Linked DNA regions of Homo sapiens: region 2 is linked to region 1. Evidence: promoter capture Hi-C in human tissues and cell types (Jung and others, 2019). All regions are on one chromosome and are shown on one strand. The core of a region is centred on a gene start or on the middle of the fragment in contact, and the rest is flanking DNA. Distances in the headings are between cores, read along the strand shown. Region 1 holds the start of ARL4D (ARF like GTPase 4D). Region 2 has its middle 18 kb from the start of ETV4.

Region 1 (5,734 bases), core at 1,305-3,804:
TTTGGCCAGTTTCTAGCTGGATGACCTTCAACAAATTACCTAACCTTTCTGTGCTTCAGTTTCTTCTTTTTAGACTAACCATACTTACTTCATGGGCTTGACTTGTGTATTAAAAAAGGAAAAGTAAGCAAAGTTCCTAGACCAGAGCCTGGCATGCAGTGGCCACTCAACAGTGCAGTGGTTCTCAACCGCTGGGCCTGCTCCGTCTTCCCCTCTCCTAACTTCACCATGCTCAGGTCTGTCTCCTGTACGTTAGCTGCTGCTGCAACCTGTCACCCTCCAACTTGGGGTGTAACAAACTAATTTCCTAAGGTCTTAATCTTAGACTAATTTCCTAAGGTCTTTAGGGATTTGGGGAGGCTCCCTGCATTGCTGGGGAAACCAGGTGGCTGGTTTTGTAGTGGAGGGGAGAAAAAGGAGGTGGCAAAGCACACTGGTGACAAACAGATGGGAAGCTTATTTATCAGCACTTGATTGAGGAGGGTGGGCAGGAAAAGGCTGGGCCGTGCTGTCTGGCAATGACTTCCCTTCTCCTTTTTCCAATCCCTCTCACACATAGCCCTTAAAAAGATTAATACTGAATTACACAATAAATAAAATAATCCACGCCTGTAAATCCCAACACTTTGGGAGGTCGAGGCGGGCGGATCACCTGAGATCGGGAGTTCGAGACCAGCCTGACCAACATGGAGAAATCCTGTCTGTACTAAAAGTACAAAATTAGCCGGGCGTGGTGGCACATGCCTATAATCCCAGCTACTCGGGAGGCTGAGGCAGGAGAATTGCTTGAACCTGGGAGGTGGAGGTTGCAGTGAGCCGAGATCGCACCATTGGACACCAGCCTGGGTAACAAGAGCAAAACTCTGTCTCAAAAATAAATAAATAAATAAATAAATAAATAAATAGATAAAGTTACAATTTACAATTTCATTCTTCTTTGATTGGCCCTCTTCTCTCCCCCACCTAATTGCTGTTGTCCTTTTGGTCACACTGCCCTTTGTGACATCTCCTTCCTTTCAGGGCTGCCCAGACTGTAGCAGGCTGCAGTGGCTGGGGAGACCCTACTCATTCCTGTGCCCCTCCTAACCAGTCCTAGATAGGGCTAAAGAACGTCTATAAACCTTTTCAGAAGCTTCCAGTTGACACATTCTCTCTCTTCTCTGAAATCCTACAAGTGCTATCTCATGATTTACAAAGACCCAATACATGTGCTGTCTCATTCTGTCATTGCCAGTCTTAAGTCTTAAGCCCTTTGAGGCCTGATTCTACAGCCGAGACATCCTCTATTTCTCCACCATCTCTCTGTCTCATTCAGAGCACACAGTATGAATGAGGTCAATAAACACAGTGTTTTTTGTTTTGTTTTGTTTTGTTTTTGTTTTTTTTGAGACAGAGTCTTGCTCTGTTGCCCAGGCTGGAGTGCAATGGTGTGATCTCAGCTCACTGCAACCTCCGCCTCCCGGGTTCAAGTGATTCTCCTGCCTCAGCCTCCCGAATAGTTGCAATTACAGGCGCCCGCCACCACACCCAGCTAATTTTTGTATTTTTAGTAGAGACGGGGTTTCACCATGTTGGCCAGGCTGGTCTCGAACTCCTGACCTCAGGTGCTTCGCCCACATCGGCCTCCCAAAATGCTGGTATTACAGGCGTGAGCTACCGTGCCCAGCCCAATAAACACACTGGTTTTTTTTTTTTGTTTGCTTTGTTTTGAGACAGAGTCTTGCTCTGTCGCCCAGGCTGGAATGCAGTGGCGCTATCTCAGCTTACTGCAACCTCCGCCTCCCGGGTTCAAGCGATTCTCCTGCCTCAGCCTCCCGAGTAGCTGGGATTACAGGCACCCGCCACCACGCCCGGCTAATTTTTGTCTTTTTATTACTGATGGGGTTTCACCCTGTTGTCCAGGCTGGTGGAACTCCTGAGCTTAAGTGATGTGCCTGCCTCAGCCTCCCAAAGTGCTGAGTTTACAGGTATGATCCACTGCGCCTAAACATACTGTTGAGTGTAACCTCAAATAGGTCATTTAACCCTTCAGGGCTTTGTGTATCTGTAAAAGGCAGACAACAGTCCCTAACAGGCTATTGCAGATAATGGGCTTAGCACTATGAAGCAGCTGTTTTATGGGGCTCCAGGTTCACCTTAGGTTTGACAATTGAATTATGAAAGATAAAGGAGAAAGACTTGTCAGCCTCTCCGAGTAGATCCTTTGGCCGAAGGAGTGTCCATGTGGGGTGGTATCTCGGCCTGGTGGAGGGGGATGCGATGGTAGTGAGAATATTAGGGTATTCATATCTTTCCTCCCGAGTCAAACGTTGCCAGGCACGTTCCTTTCGCCCCTCCCACCCTCCATTCTGCATTAATTCCAAGTTTAATTCCAAATATTAGAGTGTGGTAGAAAAGGTCAAATAGAGCAGCCACGGATTAAGCAAACGCCCCTCCGCGTATGGTGGGGGCTGCAGCGCCCGTAGCTCCACGCTCCGCCCCGCCGCCGCTGATTGTCCCGCGCCTTGTGACGTCACACGCGGGTTTTTAAGGCCGAACCCTAGGCAGGCTCTGCAGAGGCAGCGGTTGGAGGCGCGGTGGGTGTCTGCGGGGGTCTCGCGGGGCGGCTGCGGTGTTTCACCGGGAAAGGCTCGAGGAGAGCGCGGCTCACGAGAGGTAAACGGACCCTGCAGACCGTGCTGAGGCGGTCCCGGTGCCGGGCCGCTGGAGCTGGGGTCGGCCATCGGAGGAGGGCGGGCGGGCAGGAGAGTGTCGCGGGGCGGTGGGGCGAGGGTCGCGGAGTAAGGAAGGGCACCGTGTCAACGGCTTGGGGCTGCGGAGGGCGGGTGGGAGCCGGACTCAATCTCCGGTCTCAGCGTCTGCACCCTAGCTCTTAGTTTGGGGGCACTGTCGACTTCCCCCGTCCCTCGGGGATCTTGCCTGGGGGATGGCGCCATAAGCTCTGAGAAGAGGCTCTAGAAGCCCACTGTCCATGGATCGAGCCCTCACCCCCCACTTGAGTGGCCCAGGACCTGGGAGTCTCTCTAGGTCCCATCGCCCCCCTCACGACCCCCCCAGGGAGTGGGGGAACACCTCTGTTATGCCTTAAAAAAAAAAAAAAAAAGGAAAGGAATTTTAAAAATGAAGGATGGGAGGGTGATTTAGGAAGGGATCAAGAAGTTGCAAATCTTGTGTGTATTATTAAACGTCTCCTTTTTCTCCCATGACCTTTTCTTGGTTCAGATAACCCAGCTGTGCTCCCTGGAACCTTCAATTTCAAGGCCTCCCTGCCTCTACTAGGCGCCTTAGCTCACTATGGGGAACCACTTGACTGAGATGGCGCCCACTGCCTCCTCCTTCTTGCCCCACTTCCAAGCCCTGCATGTCGTGGTCATTGGGCTGGACTCTGCTGGAAAGACCTCCCTCCTTTACCGCCTCAAGTTCAAGGAGTTTGTCCAGAGTGTCCCCACCAAAGGCTTCAACACCGAGAAGATCCGGGTGCCCCTCGGGGGATCGCGTGGCATCACCTTCCAAGTGTGGGACGTCGGGGGGCAGGAGAAGCTGCGACCACTGTGGCGCTCTTATACCCGCCGGACAGACGGTCTAGTGTTTGTGGTGGACGCTGCGGAGGCTGAGCGGCTGGAGGAAGCCAAGGTGGAGTTGCACCGAATCAGCCGGGCCTCGGACAACCAGGGCGTGCCAGTGCTGGTGCTGGCCAACAAGCAGGACCAGCCCGGGGCACTGAGCGCTGCTGAGGTGGAGAAGAGGCTGGCAGTCCGAGAGCTAGCAGCCGCCACTCTCACTCATGTGCAAGGCTGCAGCGCTGTGGACGGTCTGGGCCTGCAGCAGGGCCTTGAGCGCCTCTATGAGATGATCCTCAAGAGGAAGAAGGCAGCTCGGGGTGGCAAGAAGAGACGGTGACCCAAGCCCCCCCTCCCTTTCCTCCCACCTAGTAGGGGTCTGCACACTTGGACAGCAGGGTGGGACCAGCCTGTGACCTCTCAGTCAGACTGGGGTGCAGGACCTGTCCACCTCAATGAAGGAGAGAGGAGCATGGGGTGTCCCGTTTTGGTGCCACACTGGGGTGGGGATGGGAGATGGGATGTCTTTGCATATCTCTCTCATCCTCTCTGGAGAAGTGGGCGCTGCAGGACTGTGGAGACGTAAATGTAAACTGTGACTCTACCTCGACCCTGTTTCTTATTTTTCTTCTCTGGCTAAAAATTTTTAATTGGATGTGTTTGGGGGCGGGGGGATGGAAGTGACTTGGAGAATGTGTTTGGGATGAAATAACTATCTCCCCTTCCTCTGTCCCCCAACTGGGGAGTCTCCCCAGGCTGCTTTTCTAGGAATACCAGTCACATAGTTTTTATTTTTGTGTCTGTGAAAGTGCCAAGAACCCCTCCCCACATTTGTAGATCCATGACCCTTTTTATAAGCTGTGTGTGTCCTCTGTATTATTGTTATTAACTATTTTTTAGCATTTGCCTGTAAGTTATTAAAGACTGATAACTGTAGCTCTTACCTTGGTCTGGGGCATTTTCCTCTCCTTATCTTGCCCCAGAGACAATTCAAGATTTCTATATGGGGTTGTGGCGCAGGGGGAGGGAGATTTATCTTGAAGCTGAATTTGCAAAGCAAGCACTTATAAAAATTAGATTGTGTGTTACGGGATGGCTTGTGAAAATTATAGGGGGGAGTGGAAAACCCCTCAAGCTATTGCCTGATCTCTGTAGTTTTTTGGGTGGGGTCACTTCCTTTTTCTCTGATTTAACACCCCTCCCCTCATCCTCTGGGTCTTACTTGTCCCTTATATCAACTGCTCCTTGCAGATTTAACTTCAAATTTTGCTAGTCTGAGCTACTCCTAGGTTCTTGACCTTGGTGACACCTAAGTCTATATAGGTAAGTCCTCAAAGAGCCATTCTGTTCCCATCCTCCCCACTTCCCCAGTCTTAGGTTGGTTTGATTTTTTTCCTCCTTGTAAGATGTGGTGAGAGTGGAAAGTAATTCCTCCCTGGCCTTAAGTCACCTCTGTGTACTCAATCCTGCTGACTGGCTCACTGGCATGATGGCAGCGGCTGGTGCTAGGGAGGCCTGGGCTGGATTGAGCCAGCCTGGCCCTGGTGACTAAGCCATGAGTTTTCCAGCTCTGGGAATGGTAGCTCTTCTCACGAGAGGGGCAGAAGTAGTAGCTGTTTGTGCTTGGTGGCAGAGAGGACTGCTGGACATACACCCTCCAGACTCCAAGATAGAAGGGGGAAGACATAAGCCCCCAGTATTTGTGGTGATTGTAAGAATAAAATGCTAATATTACAAGGGCTTGAGTGCCCCTACTCACCAGCACCAGGGCCAGCTATGTCTGATAACAGAACCCTTAGATCCTCTTAATCTTCTGGGTGGGAGCAGTGAGTAAGAACTAAGCACAAGGCCGGGCACAGTGGCTCACGCCTGTAATCCCAGCACTTTGGGAGGCTGAGGCAGGAGGATGGCTTGGGCCCAGGAGTTCAAGACCAGCCTGGGCAACATAGGGAGACCATGTCTCTAAAAAAGAAAAAAAACAAGCACAATTCTTTCCAGTTGTCGAGCCCTCCAGCCACCCCCTGCCACCTTTTGTGCAAACACACAATCCCCAGAGCAGGTTCAGCGTTCACACCCTGCTTCTCCCCAATTCTGTCTCCTCTTCTCCGGAATCAGATGAAAGGACCTGGGGAGAAAGAGAAGGTGCCGGCAACCCCCACTTCTGGGGAAGGTTT
Region 2 (5,551 bases), core at 943-3,442, 160 kb after region 1:
GTTCCAAACAGGAATATTCCTGGGGCTGGGGTAGAGGGAGGAGGTAGTTAGTAATTATTTCCATTTTATTCATTTATTGAGCAATTGCTACATGCCAGGCACTGTGTTAGGAGATGAGAATACAGGGTCAACGACAGTCAAGAACAACAGCAAATCTTTCATCGTTCATCATGTGCCAGGCTAAATGTTTTGCATGTGCTACTCATTTATTCCACATCATATATGTGTACAGCGTAGAGAAGTTTCTTTCTAACTTCTCTGTTAGAAAGTTTCTAAGTGTCTGGGCGCAGTGGCTCACGCCTGTAATCCCAGCACTTTGGGAGGCCGAGGTGGGTGAATAAACTGAGGTCAGGAGTTCGAGACCATCCTGGCCAACATGGAGAAACCCTGTCTCTACTAAAAATACAAAATTCGCCAGGCGTGGTGGCGCATGCTTATAGTCCCAGCTACTCGGGAGGCTGAGGCAGAAGAATCGCTTGAACCTGGGAGGCGGAGGTTGTGGTGAGCTGAGATGGCACCATTGCACTTCAGCCTGGGCAACAAGAGCGAAACTCCTTCTCAAAAAAAAAAAAAAAAAAAAGAAAGAAAAGAAAGTTTCCCAAAGTCACAGAGCTAGTGAATAGCAAGGGGAGTCAATGAGTAAGCTCAGGCCAGCAACCCTGCAAATCAGATCTCTCTCCAGCAGAGGTGTGCTCTGAGTGTCCCAGGGATTTGAGAGAGGGGCTCTGCTTGGGGAAGTGGGGAGGCAGCATTTGAGCCAGTCCTCATGGGATGAATGAAATTTCTTCCTAGGAGAGGGGAGAAGGTTCCAGGTTTAAAGAAGCAGCATTTGCCAAGGTGTAGGAGCCAGAAAGGAAATCCTAGGGGAGAGACAAATTTGGGGGTAGTCCTCAAAATTCCTACCCTCAGGCTAGGGAGTGTGAGCATTTTGAAGACCTTGTTTAGGAGCTTGTATTATATCCTATAGATCATGGGAGTCACTGGGGTCGGGGGCAGGGTGGCGGAGCATGGGTAGGTTAAAGCAATTCTGACTGAATCAGACCCTAGGCAAGAGGAAGGAGGTCACTGCCTTGGAATCTTCAAGAGTCGCTCATCCCTGATCCTGTCCCCCTTTTGCCACATAAGATGTGATGCCATCACTCAACTCATCATTCACCAACAAGCTATGGGGCCTGGAACCTTTCTATGCCTCAGTTTCCTCATCTGTAAAACGGCAATACTAGTAGTACCTGCCTCAGAGACCTGGGTGTGCAGGTAAATTGAGATGCTCTAGGGAAGCTCAGGCTTTCAGTAAGGGATCAATAAAGGCTAGTTCCTGTTATCAGATGTTACCTCCCCACCCTGTCCCGGGTCCAGTCAGCATCTCGAAGTCCTGACTCTCAGGAATGCCCCCACTCCGCCTACCAGTCTGATCTAAATCCCTCTGCTGCAGATGGAGCCCAGCTTCCCTGACAGCCTTTCAGGACGGGAAGCTCCATGTTTAGTGTTCCCCACCCTCGTCCAGCCTCTCTAATCTCAGCTCTTCCCTTTCCCCTCCCCTGTGATTATCATAAACCCTCTCGAGTTAGGCAGGCTTGGCTGGGCCCCATGCCCCTTTGAAGTCCCAAGCCAGGTTCCCAGCCTCACACACTGACTTCTGAGAAAGCTGCTTCCCATCAAATCCTGCCGCCAAAAAGACTCTCCTCTTAGGTATTCCTGCCAACTCCGTTTTATAATCTCCGTGCCGGGGAGGGAGGACAGTTCAGGCACTTTGTCTGCAGGAAGGAAGCAATTAAATTATTAGCACTTTGAGAAATTAAACGACATAACTTACGGCGGAATAAGTTTAGCCAAAAAAAAAAAAAAACCTTGTAATGTGAGAAAACAATTAAAAAGAATTATATAAGGTTGGGCTCGCTCCTTTATTGCAATAGAGTTAGCAGTTCATTGATTATCGTCCTGTTATAATGCAGCAGGATGGTGCGGGCTGCTGCGGAGGCAGCGACATTCAGGAAGCAAAGCGCTTAGTTGGGTCCTGCAAGAAGAAGAGGTGGGGGAGCTGAAAGGTTTTCCTGGAGGGCAAGGGGGAGGGGAGAGTGGGGTCAGAGGAGGATCACCAAAGCAGCAGCTCTTCTTCCCTTCTCCCTGCTCCTGCCTTGGTAGACATGGAAAAGAGCTAGTCAATTTCAGCAGTTTGTCAGTTGCTGGGGCAGTCAATTCCCTGTGCCCAAAAGATTCTTTTCCTAGGTATTCATCCAGTGAAATGTTCACACGGCTCCATAAGGAGATGTGGATGAGGATGATCAGAGCAGCCTCATAGGAGGCACCCTGGGTGTCCCTCACTGGGAGAGTGGAAAGGTCAAGTGGGTGGAAGCACCAAGGGGCGCCAGGTAGCAGCAAGAAGCACTGACGCCTGTACACAGAGCCCCGCGATAGATCTCAAAAACGTAGTGCTCCGCAACAGCAAAAAATACAAATTCTCTCTACCCGCAACGACATAGGGGAGTCTCCCAGACAAGTTGAGCAAAAGAAGCAAGACATGAAAGACAGGTACGATTCCATGCAGAGGAAGTTCAAGAAAAAATTCAATGAATGGGTGGAGATGGGAGCTGGAAGAGTGGGTACCTCAGGCAGGGAAGGGGGCAGTTTATTGACTGTGAAGGGACACAAGGGAAACTTGGCTGGGGTACTGGAAATGTTCTATATTTTGATCTCGGTGATGATTACACAGATGTATATGTAGGCTAAAAATCGAGTTTCATATTTCAGATCAGTGCACATTACTCACTTTACCGTATATATGTTATACCTCAACAGGAAAGGAAAGAGCAAACAAATGTTGTAGAGGAAAAAAATTGTAGGAAACAAAATATATAACACAATGCTATTTATGTAAATAAACCCCATGCCTACGAAATAACTACCCATCCTGAAAGAACTCAGCAAACAGATTGGGTGCAGTGGCTCATGCCTATAATCCCAGCACTTTGGGATGCTGAGGTGGGGTGATCGCTTGAGCCCAGGAGTTCAAGACCAGCCTGGACAACACAGTGAGACCCCATCTCTACAAAAAAATGAAAAAAATTACAGTGGCATGTCCTTGTAGTCCCAGCAAGTTAGGAGGCTGAGGTGAGAGGATTGCTTGAGCCCATGAGGTCAAGGCTGCAGTGAACTCTGATCTCACCAGTTCACTCCAGCCTGGGTGACAGAGAAGACCCTGTCTCAAAAAAAAAAAAAAAAAAAAAGGGAATGTATGAATGAATGAAACCAAGAGCAGGGCACTACACAGACCAGTTATGACAACAGGCCATGAACGGAGAGTATGGTAGACTCAACCCTCTCCTTCCGAAGTAGAAGCTTGTAGAAAAAGTGCTAATTAATCATATCAGGAGGTCTTTGGGCTGGGTGTGGTATGTGTAGGGTGTTGGGGCATTTTGATCTGGGGAGTGAGTGTAGATTCAGTCACTGATGCCTACCAGGAGGAAAGGGAGGTACAGATCTAGCATTTGTAAACTTCTCTGCAGTTTGCAAAGCAATGCCATGTCTACCACCTCAGAGAGCCTCACATAGGGTGTTTCCTGGAGGGAGTGAACTGGAGCCAGCCCGCCTGCTACCACCCCAAGATGGGTTTCCCTGGCAGGTGATCTAACCTCTCTGCATCTGGGCCATGGGGATGATAAAAAGAATGTCTAGAGTGAGAGGGGAGTTAGAACACAGTTTAGAGAAGGGGTCAGCCACCTTTTTCTTCTCTTTTCTTTTTTGAGACAGAGTTTCGCTCCTGTCACCCAGGCTGGAGTCCAATGGTGCGATCTTGGCTCACTGCAACCTCCGCCTCCTGGGTTCAAGTGATTCTCCTGCCTCAGCCTTCGGAGTAGCTGGGATTACAGGTGCCCGCCACTGCGCCCAGCTAATTTTTGTACTTTTAGTGGAGATAGGGTTTCACTATGTTGGCCAGGCTGGTCTTGAACTCCTAACCTCAGGTGATCCACCCGCCTTAGCCTCCTAAAGTGCTGGGATTACAGGCACGACCCACTGTGCCCGGCCCAGCCACCTTTTTCTATAGAAGGTCAGGTGGTAAATATTTTAGCCTTTGAGGGCCATAAGGTCTCTGTCATACCTACTCTGGAAGCAGCCATAGATGTAAATGAATGAGCATGACTGTGTTCCAACAAAATTTTATTTATGGACACGGACATTTGAATTTCATGTAATTTTCATATGTCACAAAGTATTATTCCTTTTTTTAACTTTTAGGTTCAGGGGTACATGTGCAGGTTTGTTATATAGGTAAACTTGTGTCACGGGGTTTTGTTGTACAGATTATTTCATCACCTAGGTACTAAGCCCAGTACCCAATATTTGTTTATTTATTTATTTTTTTAGAAATAGGGTCAGCCGGGTATGGTGGCTCACGTCTGTAATCCGAACACTTTGGGAGGCCAAGGTGGGCAGATCACTTGAGGTAAGGAGTTTGAGACCAGCCTGGCCAACATGGTGAAAATCCATCTCTACTGAAAATACAAAAATTAGCCAGGTGTGGTGGCACAGGCCTATAGTGTCAGTTACTTGGGAGGCTGAGGGAGGAGAATAGCTTGAACCCGGGAGGCAGAGGTTGCGGTGAGCTGAGATCGCACCACTGCACTCCAGCCTGGGTGACAGAGCGAGACTCCGTCTCAAAGAAAAAAAAAAGAGAGAGACAGGGCCTCACTCTGTTGCCCAGACTAGAGCACAGTGGCACCATCATGCTCACTGCTGGCTGGAACTCTTGGGCTCAAGTGATCCTCCTGCCTCAGCTTCCCAAGTAGCTAGGGCTACAGGCACATGCCATCACACCTGGATAATTTTTTAATTTTTTGTTGAGACAGAGGTCTTGCTACATTGCCCAGGCTGGTCTCGACTCCTAGCCTCAAGGGATTCTCCCACCTAGGCTTCCTAAAGTGCTGGGATTACAGGTTGAGCCACCACGCCCAGCTGTGAAGTATTATTCTTTTGATTTTTTTTTTCAAACCTTTTAAAAATGTAAGAATGATTCTCAACTTGCAGGCTGTACACAAACAGGTAGGAGGCCATAACTGCTGACCCCTGGTCTAGAGGATAAATGAGTTGGAGCAGTCCTTGGCACATAGCAAGTGCTCAAGAAACCTCAGTTATTATCATTCTCACCCCTGTTGTACAGATGAGGGGCAAAGTGACTTATCCAGGTTTACCAGGGAGTTCACGGCAGAACTGGGCCTCTCATCTGGATCTCCTGAGTCTCAATCCACTTTGAACAAATGCTCAAGAAGGAAAGAGTCTAAGTTGTACATGACATCCCTTTTTCCAGGGCCCACATCTTGCAGCACAAAGTCTGGCTTCTAGAGAGACTAGAGCTCCTCTATGCTCTTGTTTCCTGCAGCAGCAGTGTGCTGAATTTCCTGATGTGGATGTCATTATGGGTCATCCAAGTGCACCTCTAGTTACATTTATATAAAGTTCAAATCCAGGCAAAGCTAATCTGTGCTATTATTATTAGAAGCCAGGAGAGTGGGCGGGGCACGGTGGCTCATGCCTATAATCCCAGCATTTTGGGAGA

The links. The method cuts DNA at HindIII sites, captures the fragments that hold promoters and counts their contacts. A contact is called where the count stands out against the background at its distance.
Region 2: a fragment that was not itself captured here is called in contact with the fragment with the promoter of ARL4D in region 1 in 1 of the 25 tissues and cell types used here (spleen).

Annotation. Positions count from the first base shown.
Region 1 is chr17:43,396,439-43,402,172 of GRCh38, forward strand. It overlaps ARL4D (ARF like GTPase 4D), which reads left to right and starts at 2,555. Exons shown (of 2, transcript NM_001661.4): 1 at 2,555-2,655; 2 at 3,223-4,699. The coding sequence starts at 3,295. The coding sequence ends at 3,900. RefSeq lists an enhancer at 2,679-3,182. The HindIII fragment of the contact is 9,238 bases long and covers 794-5,734 here.
Region 2 is chr17:43,561,404-43,566,954 of GRCh38, forward strand. No RefSeq gene overlaps it. Among named protein-coding and RNA genes, the nearest start is that of ETV4, 18 kb to the left of the region's middle. The HindIII fragment of the contact is 6,893 bases long and covers 1-5,551 here.